Linked DNA regions of Homo sapiens: region 1 is linked to region 2. The links are contacts of gene promoters, found by promoter capture Hi-C in human tissues and cell types (Jung and others, 2019). All regions are on one chromosome and are shown on one strand. Each heading gives the region's core, a stretch centred on a gene start or on the middle of the fragment in contact. The rest is flanking DNA. Distances are from core to core; before and after follow the strand shown. Region 1 holds the start of CD300H (CD300H molecule (gene/pseudogene)). Region 2 holds the start of CD300LB (CD300 molecule like family member b).

Region 1 (6,044 bases), core at 3,185-5,684, 39 kb after region 2:
GGCAGGGGGGCGGGCGGGAGAACATTTGGTAATGACTACAGATATTTTTGGTTGTCCCAACTTAGGGTGGGGAATTGCTGCTGGCATCTGGTGGGTAGAGGCCAGGGATGCTTCTAAACATCTTACAATGCACAGGACAGCCCCCAACACACAGAATAACGCAGCCCCAAATGTCCACAGTGTTGAGGTCCACGAGCTTTCCCAGGGAGCTAACTGCCTGCCAGGCACAGGCTTAGGAGCAAGGAAGGGGTGGGCACACCCAGTCCTCTCCTGAAATCGCTGCTGCTCTCAGCTCAGGCTCTGGGGGCGCTGTTAGCCTGCTCTTTCAGGTCCTTAAACTTCTCTCTTAATGATTTGGGGCTAATTCCACAAGGAGCAAAAACATTGTGGGGCACACACTGAATCCCACCACAGAGCCTCCCTCTCCTTGGATATTCAGTCCAGACCCTGACTCTGAGCCAACATGGGCAGCCTCCTCCACCTCCACCCCCACCATCTTTTACGGAGCTTCCCGCCTACCCAGCCTTGCAAAGAAACTGACTTTCTCCCTCCACCATCATTTACGGAAACTCTCGGACCAGGGCTGACCACAGGTTCCCAGCTGTCTCACCCTTCTGGGGGCCCATTAAGTAGCAGCCCTGGGGCCAGCCCAGACCTGTGGGGACACCCAGGGTTCCCACGTGGGGATGCAGCATATGCCTCCAGATATGTAAGTGAAGCTTTACAAGGAGGCGCAGCAGACATTGACATTGAATTAGAGAAGGAGCAATGATCTTGGAAATAAAAGTATTTAGGTTTGGACCTTGACTGTGCCTTTTATAAACTGTTTAATCTAAATTATTTGCACCTCTAAGAGCGAGCTTCGGTCTCTTGTTTTCATCAGGATTGCAATAAGAATTAAATGAGATAGTGGGAAACAAGATATGTATTACAGTGATTAGCCTAGTAAGTACTGGTTTTCTGTCCCCTATTCCCCCTTCTCTCTGATGGATCGTGGTGGCATTCCTGATCTTAATAATGACGGTAATAATGATTAAAGTTGCCAAATCTACTTAGGGCTTACTGTGTGGGAAGCAGTTTACCGTTTAATCCCCACCCTATCCCGATAAGGAGATTTGAGAAGCTTCTATGCACACCTCACTCCCTCTTTCTTGATATCATTTCTTCCTCTTGCCCCTCGCCAGCCTTTTCTCATGCCTGCCTCACCCTGACCCGCCAGAGCAGACCTCCCTGCACCCAGGACCTGCCCTGCTCATCTGGGACACAGAGAAGGAGCAGAGCTGAAGGCAGCATGGCAGCCCCAGCCCTCTGGGTCATCTCACCAGCATGGAAGTCCCTTGTGGCAGCAGGGTCTGAGGCTCTTTTTCCTTCTCACATCTCTCGTTTCCTTCTCTGGCCTCTTCTGGGTTTGGTTCTCAGAGCTGGTGAGAGTATGGAGGAAGCTGGGGCCATGGGGCACTATGTGGTCAGGTGAAACAATTTTGAGAACTTGCTGAAGTTCTTCCTAATAAAACATGTTTGCATTTGCTGTTCCTCTTTCTGTTCCCAGTAAAGACAATGTCCCTCCCATTACCCACAGCTGACAGGCCTGCCCTTCTCCAAATCACAGCATGGCCCAGGACCAGTGAGACTGGGCCAGCTGCCATCTGGATTTTCTGGGCAGGTCCTCCCCTCTGTGAATGGCCAGTTTTCTGTGGCCAGCATGAGCCGCCCCAGGGTATGGCTCAGCCTTCACTGGATGGATGAGACTGGCTATTTGCAGAGCCCAGTGTAAAATCAAACCTAGGTTTCCAAAATTATTAAGAATTTCAAGATGGTGACAGCCAAGCATGAAACGTGGGACCCTTCTAAGAGCCGGGCCTGCGAGACTGCACAGGGTAGGGGCACACCCACGATGCCCGCTGGTCTATCTCTGATCCTTGGTGGTACAGATAGGCTGGGTGCAACCTCAGAGGCTCTGACCTCTTAACCCCTCACTCTTGCTCTGACCTCAGCAGACCCCAGAGGTCCCTGTCTTGGCCACGTGCCTGACTGTTTCCACAGACCTGGCACCACGCAGAGCTTGGTGGACCATCTATAAGCCTTGCTTTTGACCTGTGTGGCTCTTCCTGTCGCCCAAGATGACCACATATAAGAGTTTCAATATATCAAGAGCTAACTCGGGGGAACCTGGCCAGAAGTGTGCCTGATATACACAGAATGGCTGTGGAGGATTTATAAATGCAAGCACAGCTTCAGAAGGCCTCACTCAGGGACTTAGATTTCTGGAACTAGGAGACTCCAAATTCCTGGCATTCTGTTATCAAATGTCTCCTCCTTGGTGTTTCAGTAAATGTGTTTCCTGCTTGTTCATTTTTTGCTGCATGTGGAGTCCTCATATTTCTGTGTGTGTTCACATGTGTGTATATGGGTGTGGTATGAGGGATATATGTGTAGTGTGTGTGGTGTGGGTAGTGTGTGTAGTATGTGTGGTATGTGTGTATGTAGGTACATGTGATGTATGTGCATGGTGTGTGGGATGGTGTGTGTGTAGTGTGTGTGTATGTGTGGTGTGAGTGGTGTGTGTGAGATGTGTGTAGTGTGTGTGTATGTGTGTGGTGTTTGGGGTCGTGTGTGTGGTGTGAGTGGTGTGTGTGGTGTGGGTGGGATGTGTGTAGTGTGTGTATGTGTGTACATGTGGTGTATGTGTGTGATGTGTGGGGTGGGGTGCATGTAGTGTGTGTGTTTGCATGTGTGTGTGGTGTGTGTGCACAGGTGGTGTGTGTGTAGTGTGTATGTGTGTGCACGTGTGTGGTGTGAGATGTGTGTACATGTGGTGTATATGTACAGTATGTGGGGTAGGGTGTGTGTAATGTGTGTGTGGTGTGTGTGATGTGAGTGGTGTGTATGAGATGAGATGTGTGTAGTGTGTATGTGTGTACGTGTGTGTGGTGTGTTGGGTGGTGTGTGTAGTGTGTATATGTGTGCATGTGTGGGAGTGTATGTGGTGTGTGCGTGTCCATGTGTGGTGTACGTGTGTGGTATGTGGGGTGGTGTGTGGTGTATGTGTGTGGTATGTGGGGTGATGTGTGTAGTGTATGTATGTGTGTGCATGTGTGGGCGTGGAGGGTGTGGGTGGTGTGTGTGTACATGTGGTGTATGTGTGTGGTGTGTGTATGTGTGTGCATGTGTGGGGGGTGTGGGTGGTGTGTGTCTACATGTGGCGTATGTGTGTGGTGTGTGGGGTGGTGTGTGCATGTGTGGGCGTGGGGAGGTGTATGGGTGTGTGTGTGTGTACATGTGGTGTATATGTGTGGTGTGTGGGTTGGTGCGTGCATGTGTGTGGAGGGGAAGCAGGAGCTGGGAGTGATAAAGATGTCTCCCCTTGCAGCCTGCAGAGCCGGTTGCGAGCCCCGCCCTCTGTGCCTAGCTCTGGGCGCTAAGGAAAGGCTTGCCTGGCCCTCCCTGACTCTGCGTCAAGGGCTGCTCAACGTGCCTTTCTTGGGAAGAAGGGATCTGAGTCTGTGAAGGAGATGACGCACAGCTGCAGACTTTTCCAGAAAACATTCTCGCCATCCTTGTCTGGACAAACCACCGGGTGCACAGGGTTGTATTAGTCAGCTCTTTCTGGCTCACATTGCCATAGCAAAACTCCTAATCCCAGCATGCTGTAACCACAGAAGCTTGTTTCTCGCTCGTCTATACGCAAGCGGTGAGTCAGCATTGCTTGGGCACCAGGCTGCGGAGCCCAGTCCGCTAGAGGAGAGGGAAGGCACCGGGTGGCTCTCTGAGCCTCTGCTCAGAAGGCGCACATGCGGCTCCTGCTCACCGTTCATCGTCATAGGGTCAAGCCTGAAGTCAGTGGGAAGGAGAAGCACAGTCCTCTTACAGGACAAGGCGGCAAGTCACTGACCACAACCACAGAACCCACTACTGGAGGTTCCCTAACCGGGCTGGAAGGGTGCCCCGCAGCACACCGACTCCGTGCTTCTCGCTCATCCAAGGTCGGGGCAGGGAGAGGCTGCAGGGTCTGCTTAGAAACAGCCTGTGTGTGTTTCATTTTTTTAGCTAGGACCAGACAGTTTGCCAAATGCAAAGGACATGGCAATGCCACAGGGAACCCACCTTTGAAGCAGATGTACTCTGGGCCCTGGAGTCCCCCAGGAGATGACAAATTCCTTGAAGAGATGACCCACATCTGGGACATCCAGGCTTTTTCCATGTCAAGGCCAGCATCTGGAGCCGCTGTCCCTTCCCCAGCAGGCCCTTGTCCTTCTGTCTCTGAAACCTGTCCTGGAAAATGCTGTCCGCTCCAGGAGGGCAGAGCTAGGGGAGGACTGAGAATAATGAACACTGGCCATGAGGCACAGGAGGGCGGGGAGCCCGGGGCCCTGCCTGGCACTGCACCACACTGAGACCCCCACCATCGCTGCCCTTGAGGGACAGCTCTTGGGGCTTCCAGAAAGTTAAGATCTCATCAGTGAGGGGTGCGTTCTTAGGGCAAACTCGGGGCATGTGATGTGTAGGACAGTGTGAGTAGCCCACACATTTCTCTCTGCCTTTCGGGGCTGTGCTTGTCTTTCTGCTTCCTCGAAAACCGTCATCCTCCCTTCTCACTCTCCCAGGATGAGCTCAGACCACACCTCTCCTGGAAGGCATCCCTGCCTGCTCCAGGCCTTCCAGACCCCTCCCTCTGGGGTTCCTGTTACCTGCAATGCTTATTTCTGTATTTAATCTCATGTCCCTGTGCTGTCATTGTCCTGTTGCATGGCATCCATTTCCAGGTGAGGCTGTAGCCTCCACAAAGGCAGGACCAATCTGGGCACCCGGAGACGCAGACAGAGCTCGGCCCCAGCCTTGTGAGCTGAATTGGAGGGTGAGAGCTCCGATCCTTCCATATTTTCCAGGGGAGGGGATCAGGAATGTATTAAGGCATTGGGCCTCTCTTCTCTCACCTCTACTACCCGACGTCAATCCATTTGGGGAGTAGTTCTCAGTATCTTGTGCATCATGGTGAGAATGGGCAAGTGCCCAAGGATGGTGGACCCCACTGCCCACTTTCTTCCCTCCCCACTGGCACTCAAGGGAGACGTCACCAAGAGGGCAGCCTCCTGACCGGCTCTGGGCAATGGATGCCTCTTTGGGATCTTGTTACAAATACAGGGCTCTCTAGGGAGCAGGGTGTGGGGAGGGTCTTCCCAACATGGGGGCTGGGGTGCTATAGGGAGCCCGGCTCAGAGAGGGTCTCTACCTGACTCTGATGATGTGGGCCATGTAGCACAGTGAGGAAGGTTCTGGCCATAAGCTGGGAGCCCTGGCTCAGATTTTAAGGTCTGCTGTTCACTAGTTATATGACTTTAGGCAAATCAGCAAAAGTCTCTTAGCATCAGTCTCCTCATCTGTGAAATAGGAATAAAAATATTCACCCTGCTCAGTCCCAGGAGTTGAGCAAAGGCATTTGAAGGTGGTGGCATCCCTCTGGGAAACTTTCCTCTTTTGATCTTCTACGTACCATGCACTCTGTATATTTAAATCCTGCATACCCATCCCAACACCCCTGCCAGGTCACTTTTAAATAAGATGACTGGAGCTGGAAAGACGAACTAAACTGTCATGATGGGAAGTGGGGAGGTCAGGATTTGAACCCAGGTCTTCGGTGGGGTCCCACCTCTGGCTCTCATGATGCAAGGTACGGATTGCAACACTCAGGCAGGGGTGAGATGGGTTGAGAGATGGCAAGTGGAAGAGGCCTCCAAGTCTTATTTCATTCAATATCTGTTTGCAGAATAGCAGGAAGTATCTTCAGGGGAAATTAACAACACAACAAAGTCTGCTTCTGGGTGTCTGCTATGGATTGATGAGTTCCCCCAAAAATTCATATGTGGAAGCCCTAACCCGTAATGTGGTGATATTAGGAAATGAGCCTGTGGGAGGTAATTAGGGTTAGATGAGGTCATGAGGATCAGGCCTTCATTGTGGGATTAGTGCCCTTATCAGAAGAAGAAGAGAGATCTCACTTTCTTTCTTAGTCCATTTAGGCTGCTATTTTAAAATACCATAGACTG
Region 2 (5,463 bases), core at 627-3,126:
TCACCAACATGGTGAAATCCTGTCTCTACTAAAATTACAAAAATTAGCCAGGCATGGTGGCAGGCACCTTAATCCCAGCTTCTTGGGAGACTGAGGCAGAAGAATCACTCGAACCTGGGAGGCGGAGGTTGCAGTGAGCCAAGGTTGCACCACTGCACTCCAACCTGGGTGACAGAGTGAAACTCCGTCTCAAAAACAAAAAACAAAAACAAAAACAAAATACCCAAAAACATAAATTGGATTTGTCAGCAATCACTAACAGCAGAAAAGAGATGCTGCTGCATTGAACAAAGTGTCATCAATCCCAGCTTCAGTCATTCAAACTGTAAATGGCTCACGATGTAATTAGTCCCGTTTAAAAAAATATTTGGGGGTTTCTCTAACCACAGAATATGATGGCTGGAACTATTAATCAGGCTTCTATATGTTGTCAAGAGTTGGTATGAGGAACGATAGAGATGGAAATGACAGGGCAGCCGTCAGCTTGGAGCAGAGCCCCGTTGAACGGGCTGAAGGGTGGAAGTCCAGCCAGGACTGGAGTCGGGTCTCAGAACTCCCCAGCCATGCTCTTTCCTGTTGTCCCTCCGTGGACTGCTCTATCTGTGCCAGATGGTCAGTCCCTAGGCACCAGCAGAAAACTGTGTGGCCCACACACATTGCACACCCTGCGTAAAATTCTAGATTGTCCCCTAATGCCCTCTAGGTGTCCACCAAGGTTTGCCATGGAGAAGATCATCTAGCCCTTCCCACTTTCCACCTGGGTTCTTGAGAAGTTTTTTCTTTGAAAGTCTCAGCTCCTGAGCCTGGCGTGGATGGCCTTCATAATCTTGTCTTTTGTGTTTCCAACCTCATATCCAACTCGCCACCTCCAAGACATCCTGCACACTGACAGCTCCCTCTGCATGAATCCACCATTCTTTCTAAGCCTCCATCTCTCTGCCCAGGTCCCCCAACACACACACACACACACACACACACACACACACACACACACCCAACTCTCTAGAGTGTTCTCCTCTCAGCTCTGCTCCAGAGACTGACCTTCCTTCTACAAGGCACATCAAGTGCACAGCTTCGTGAGTCTTTCTCTAGTCACCAGAGAGAACTGCTTCATCCTCCGCACACGCCTCCACCAATGCCTTATTGTGTCCTGCAATTGCTCATTGTTTATGTGTATGTCTCACCCACTAAGCCATCTGGAGTCTTTTTACTTTATTTTTTTTTTGAGACAAGGTCCCACTGTATCACCCAGGCTGGAGTGCTGTGGTGCGATCATAACTCTGCAGAATTGAATACCTGAGCTCAAAGGATCCTCCAGCTTCAGCCTCCCAAGTAGCTGGGACTACAGGCACGGTCACCACGCCCAGCTAATTTTTGTTCATTTTATATAGAGACGAGGTCTCACCATGTTGCCCAAACTGGTCTTAAACGCCTGGACTCAAGCAATCCTCCCACCTTGGCCTCCCAAAGTGTTAGGATTATAGGTGTGAGCCATGGCCTCAAGCCTGGAGTCTTCTTTAATGGCCAGTTCTCCTCCTCTTTTTTCTTGATGTCCTCAGGCCCCGAAGCACACGATGTCAGTCCCCAGTGCACCTTTGTCGAATGACTTCACAAAGCCACCTCTCATTTCCCTGGATGTGGAAGGACAAATGCCCTCTGCCTCCTGCCCTGCCCCTGTCATACCAAGCGCCCAAGGCCCCAGCCCCACTCACCTGAGAGGCTGAGAAGGAGCAGAGCAGGGGGCAGCCACATGGCTCTGCCTTCCCGGCTCCTCGTCCGCCTGATCTGCAACCAGTGGCAAATGCAGATCCCAGATGCACTCTGGAAGTTCTGCCTGAGCTCTGGCTTGCACCTTCTGCACATCTAGACCGCCTTTGACTTTCTTACTCATTCACTTCCTTTTATAGAGTGGGTAGTTCCTGCTTTTAATTATTAAACGAAAGAGGTGTCATTTTTTGGCAGGGCTGCGCCACAGGGCTTAAGCATCGTCACTATGTAAAAAAGAGGAGGGAGGGGACTGTGCAGGGTCTTTAGGGTAGGGGGAGATACGTCTGCAGAAGGGGTGGGGTGGGGGGCGTCTGGCCTAGCAGGCCTTGGGTCCAAGGGGTATAACACTCTGGGAGTCAATTTCAGAGCTGTTCTATACCACAGTGAACACCCAACTCAGATGTCGGATGGGTCATGCTGGGCACACCTGAACATGCATTTGTTCAGGTGTTATAGCCAAGTGCATAAACATGCAGACTGTTGGGTCAGACAGACCTGGCTCTAACCCCACGAGCACCACCTACAAGCTGCGTGACTGTGGACAATGCAATCAACATCTCTGTGCCTCAGTTATTGTATCTATTAACTGGGCTCATAATGTTTGTTGTTGTTATAGGAGTTATTAAGAAATTATTTTAGGTAGATAGGAAAAGGGGTGCTTGGGAAGATTTTTTTTTCTTTTAAAGCAGCTCCATAAATGTTTCTTGTCTAGAAGAAAAGCCCTGGCTCTTAGAGCTGGGCAGGCAAGCTTTGATATGCAAATACAGGCCATTAGAAACTGCGTCCACCCAAACATGGAGACTCCCGCCTCTTCTTCTTTTCCCCACGTTCCTGGCAACATGGCCGCCCCTACATACACCCATGTGTGTAGAACATCATGGCGCCTGTATTTGCATATTAAAAGGCTAGGGTAGGAAGGCTAGTTTTTTCGTGGGCTACTTGAATGACATACCTGGTCAAACCAATCCCCTGGGCCCTATGCAAATCAGGTACCGCCTCCTCCAGCCTCCTCATATAACTGGCTGTTTTCCACCGTACTCGAGGTTCCCTCTTTCAGCTTGGAGCCCGCCTCCCTCAGTCTCAGAACAGGGGGAGCCTCTTCCTTCCTTCTTTCTTGTCTATTAAATTCTCCACTCCTTAAAACCACTCCACGTGTGCCCATGTTGTTTTATTCAAACCAGTGGGAGACCAAGGACCCTAGTGTTCCTCCAGTCATCAGAGCCATACCATTTTGTTGCATTGGCCGGGAATCCAAGGTACGACACTCATCGGAGTGGTAAGTATGGGAGTGAGCTTAAAATCTCTTCTATCATTCCGAGGCACTCTTAGCCTCTATTTTAAAATAAAATAAGTCAATGGGCATCCGTCAGCCGGGTACATACACTTAGTGTTGGCTGCCATACTGAAGACTCGAATGTGAGGCTTGCTGCTGAGAACACGGAGAACCCCCCAACACCCCTGGGTCATTGGGAATGTTGGCCATGTTTTAAATCAGCTTCTTTTCACGGGAAGACCTCGCCATTGTGCAAGGCTGGGAAAAGTTCTAAGGCAACTAACAATTTCTGGCCAGAGCACACCCTGGCATGATTCAAAGGCCCCTGGACTGGACCCAGCCTCTGGCGGCCCATTCTGGGTGTTGGCAAAGAATCCTCAACTATCTTGTCACAAAACTCTCCTTCCTTCTCTATCTGCGGTCTCTTACACTTTCTTTGTGTGAAATGTGTAGCGAGTTTTACAGCCTAGGAAAGTAATCCTGTTAGGCAAAATCAGGAAGATGCCCTTGCAATCTTCTAGGAACAGAGTTCTCCCCTTTCTCCCACCGTGAGGTTACTCACTACCACGTCTCTAGTGAGCACATAGTATTTCTAAGCCAACAGTGCCACCTAGTAGAAATAGAAATCCTCTACATAAAGCATATTTTTTCATGGCAAACCGCAGCTTCTTTTTGCATGATTAGAAATCAGGCTCGGCCAGGCGCGGTGGCTCATGCCTGTAATCCCAGCACTTTGGGAGGCCGAGGCGGGCAGATCATGAGGTCGGGAGATCGAGACCATCCTGGCTAACACAGTGAAACCCCGTCTCTACTAAAAATACAAAAAAAAATTAGCCAGGCGTGGTGGCGGGCGCCTGTAGTCCCAGCTACTCGGGAGGCTGAGGCAGGAGAATGGCGTGAACCCGGCAGGCAGAGCTTGCAGTGAGCCGAGATCGCGCCACTGCACTCCAGCCTGGGCAACAGAGCAAGACTCGGTCTCAAAAAAAAGAAAAGAAAAGAAAAGGAAAGAGAGAGAGAGAGAGAAAGAAAGAACAAGAAAAGAAAAAAGAAAAAGAAATCAGGCTCTAGGCCTCTTCTTGAAATGGGAAAGTTCTGCCTTTAGCAGTTAGGAGTTAAGAAGTCTTCCATAGCCAAATTTTAGTCTCAATATTGTCCCATTGGCAGGAAAATGGCCATTCGGTTCCTACATTCCTTTAAGGCACCTATTCTGTCTCCGATTAAGATGGTACTTAATTAGTAAGGGGATTTTTAAGTCCAGAAGTTAACCAGAACCATTTTTCTAAGGGTAAATGCTTTAGCACAGGCCATAATAATAGCAAGATATAAAGTTCAATCTAGCACGCCCCCTCCCTTAAAGAGGCTTTGCCCAATTATGTAGTTTTTCTTTTTTTTTCTTTTCTTTTCTTTCCTTTTTTTTTTTTTTTTTTTTTTTTTTGAGATGGAGTCTTGCTCTTGCCACCCAGGCTGGATTGCAGTGGTATGATCTCAGCTCACTGCAACCTCCACCTCCCGGGTTCAAGTGATTCTCCTGCCTCATCCTCCCAAGTTGCTGGAATTACAGGTGCCCGCTACCATGTGTGGCTAATTTTTGTATTTTTAGTGGAGACAGGGTTTCACCATGTTGGCCAGGCTGGTCTTGAACTCCTGACCTCAGGTGATCCACCCACCTTGCCCTCCCAAAGTGCTAGAATTACAGACATAAGTCACCACACCTGGCCCGTAGTTTTTCTTAAAATCGTTGTTTTTTTGTTTTGTTTTTTAGGGAAGCACACAGGTCACACAGGAGGTCAAAAAGAAATAAAAGACTAAGGTGCTTGTGGAAGTGTAAGTGGGCCCAGAAGTCTAGTTTCTCTGGTGCCATGGCTTGGAGGGTCACGCCTGCAGTCATGGCCAGCACATTTAAATGGGTGCCAGGATCCAGGAACCAGGGAAAGAAAATAGTTGGGGGAACGCCCCCTACTGTGTTCTCCATCCTGGATCACATACTGAAAGGAAGGAGACTAAAATAATGCTTTTATTCTCACTTCTCTTTCTAGATGGGTAACAGATCGTCTTCTCTGCACTCCAACCTGGGTGACAGAATGAGGCTTCATCTAAAAAAATTAATATAATGAATCACATTAATAGAATAAAGAAGAAAACCCACATAATCATGTAAACGCACAAAAACCACTATCTGAAATCCATTACTTTTCATGATAAACTAGGAATTAAAAGGTGCCTATAAGCAACCCATTACAACCCATGGCAAAATCTTTCCTTTAGAATCAGGAAGAGGACAAGATTGCTCAAAATCACTACTTTGATTCAACACTTTGATTAGCCTGCACAATACAACAAGAAAGAGAAACAAAAGACATGAGAATTAGAAAGAAAAACAAAGCTCTAAATTATTCTAGATTAATTGATTATCTACATATAAA

Evidence for each region. Contacts are between HindIII fragments. The study calls those that stand out against the background at their distance.
Region 1: a contact is called between a fragment that was not itself captured here and the fragment with the promoter of CD300LB in region 2, in 4 of the 25 tissues and cell types used here (adrenal gland, psoas muscle, spleen and 1 more).

The regions. Positions count from the first base shown.
Region 1 is chr17:74,566,027-74,572,070 of GRCh38, forward strand. CD300H (CD300H molecule (gene/pseudogene)) reads right to left here and starts at 1,483. Exons shown (of 4, transcript NM_001405511.1): 1 at 1,323-1,483. RefSeq lists enhancers at 2,830-3,560, 3,561-4,290. The HindIII fragment of the contact is 7,027 bases long and covers 922-6,044 here.
Region 2 is chr17:74,529,599-74,535,061 of GRCh38, forward strand. It overlaps CD300LB (CD300 molecule like family member b), which reads right to left and starts at 1,877. Exons shown (of 4, transcript NM_174892.4): 1 at 1,713-1,877. The coding sequence starts at 1,752. LOC107985074 (a long non-coding RNA gene) reads left to right here. Exons shown (of 3, transcript XR_007065902.1): 2 at 2,949-3,043; 3 at 5,077-5,281. It also overlaps a transcript of CD300C not described here. The HindIII fragment of the contact is 14,743 bases long and covers 518-5,463 here.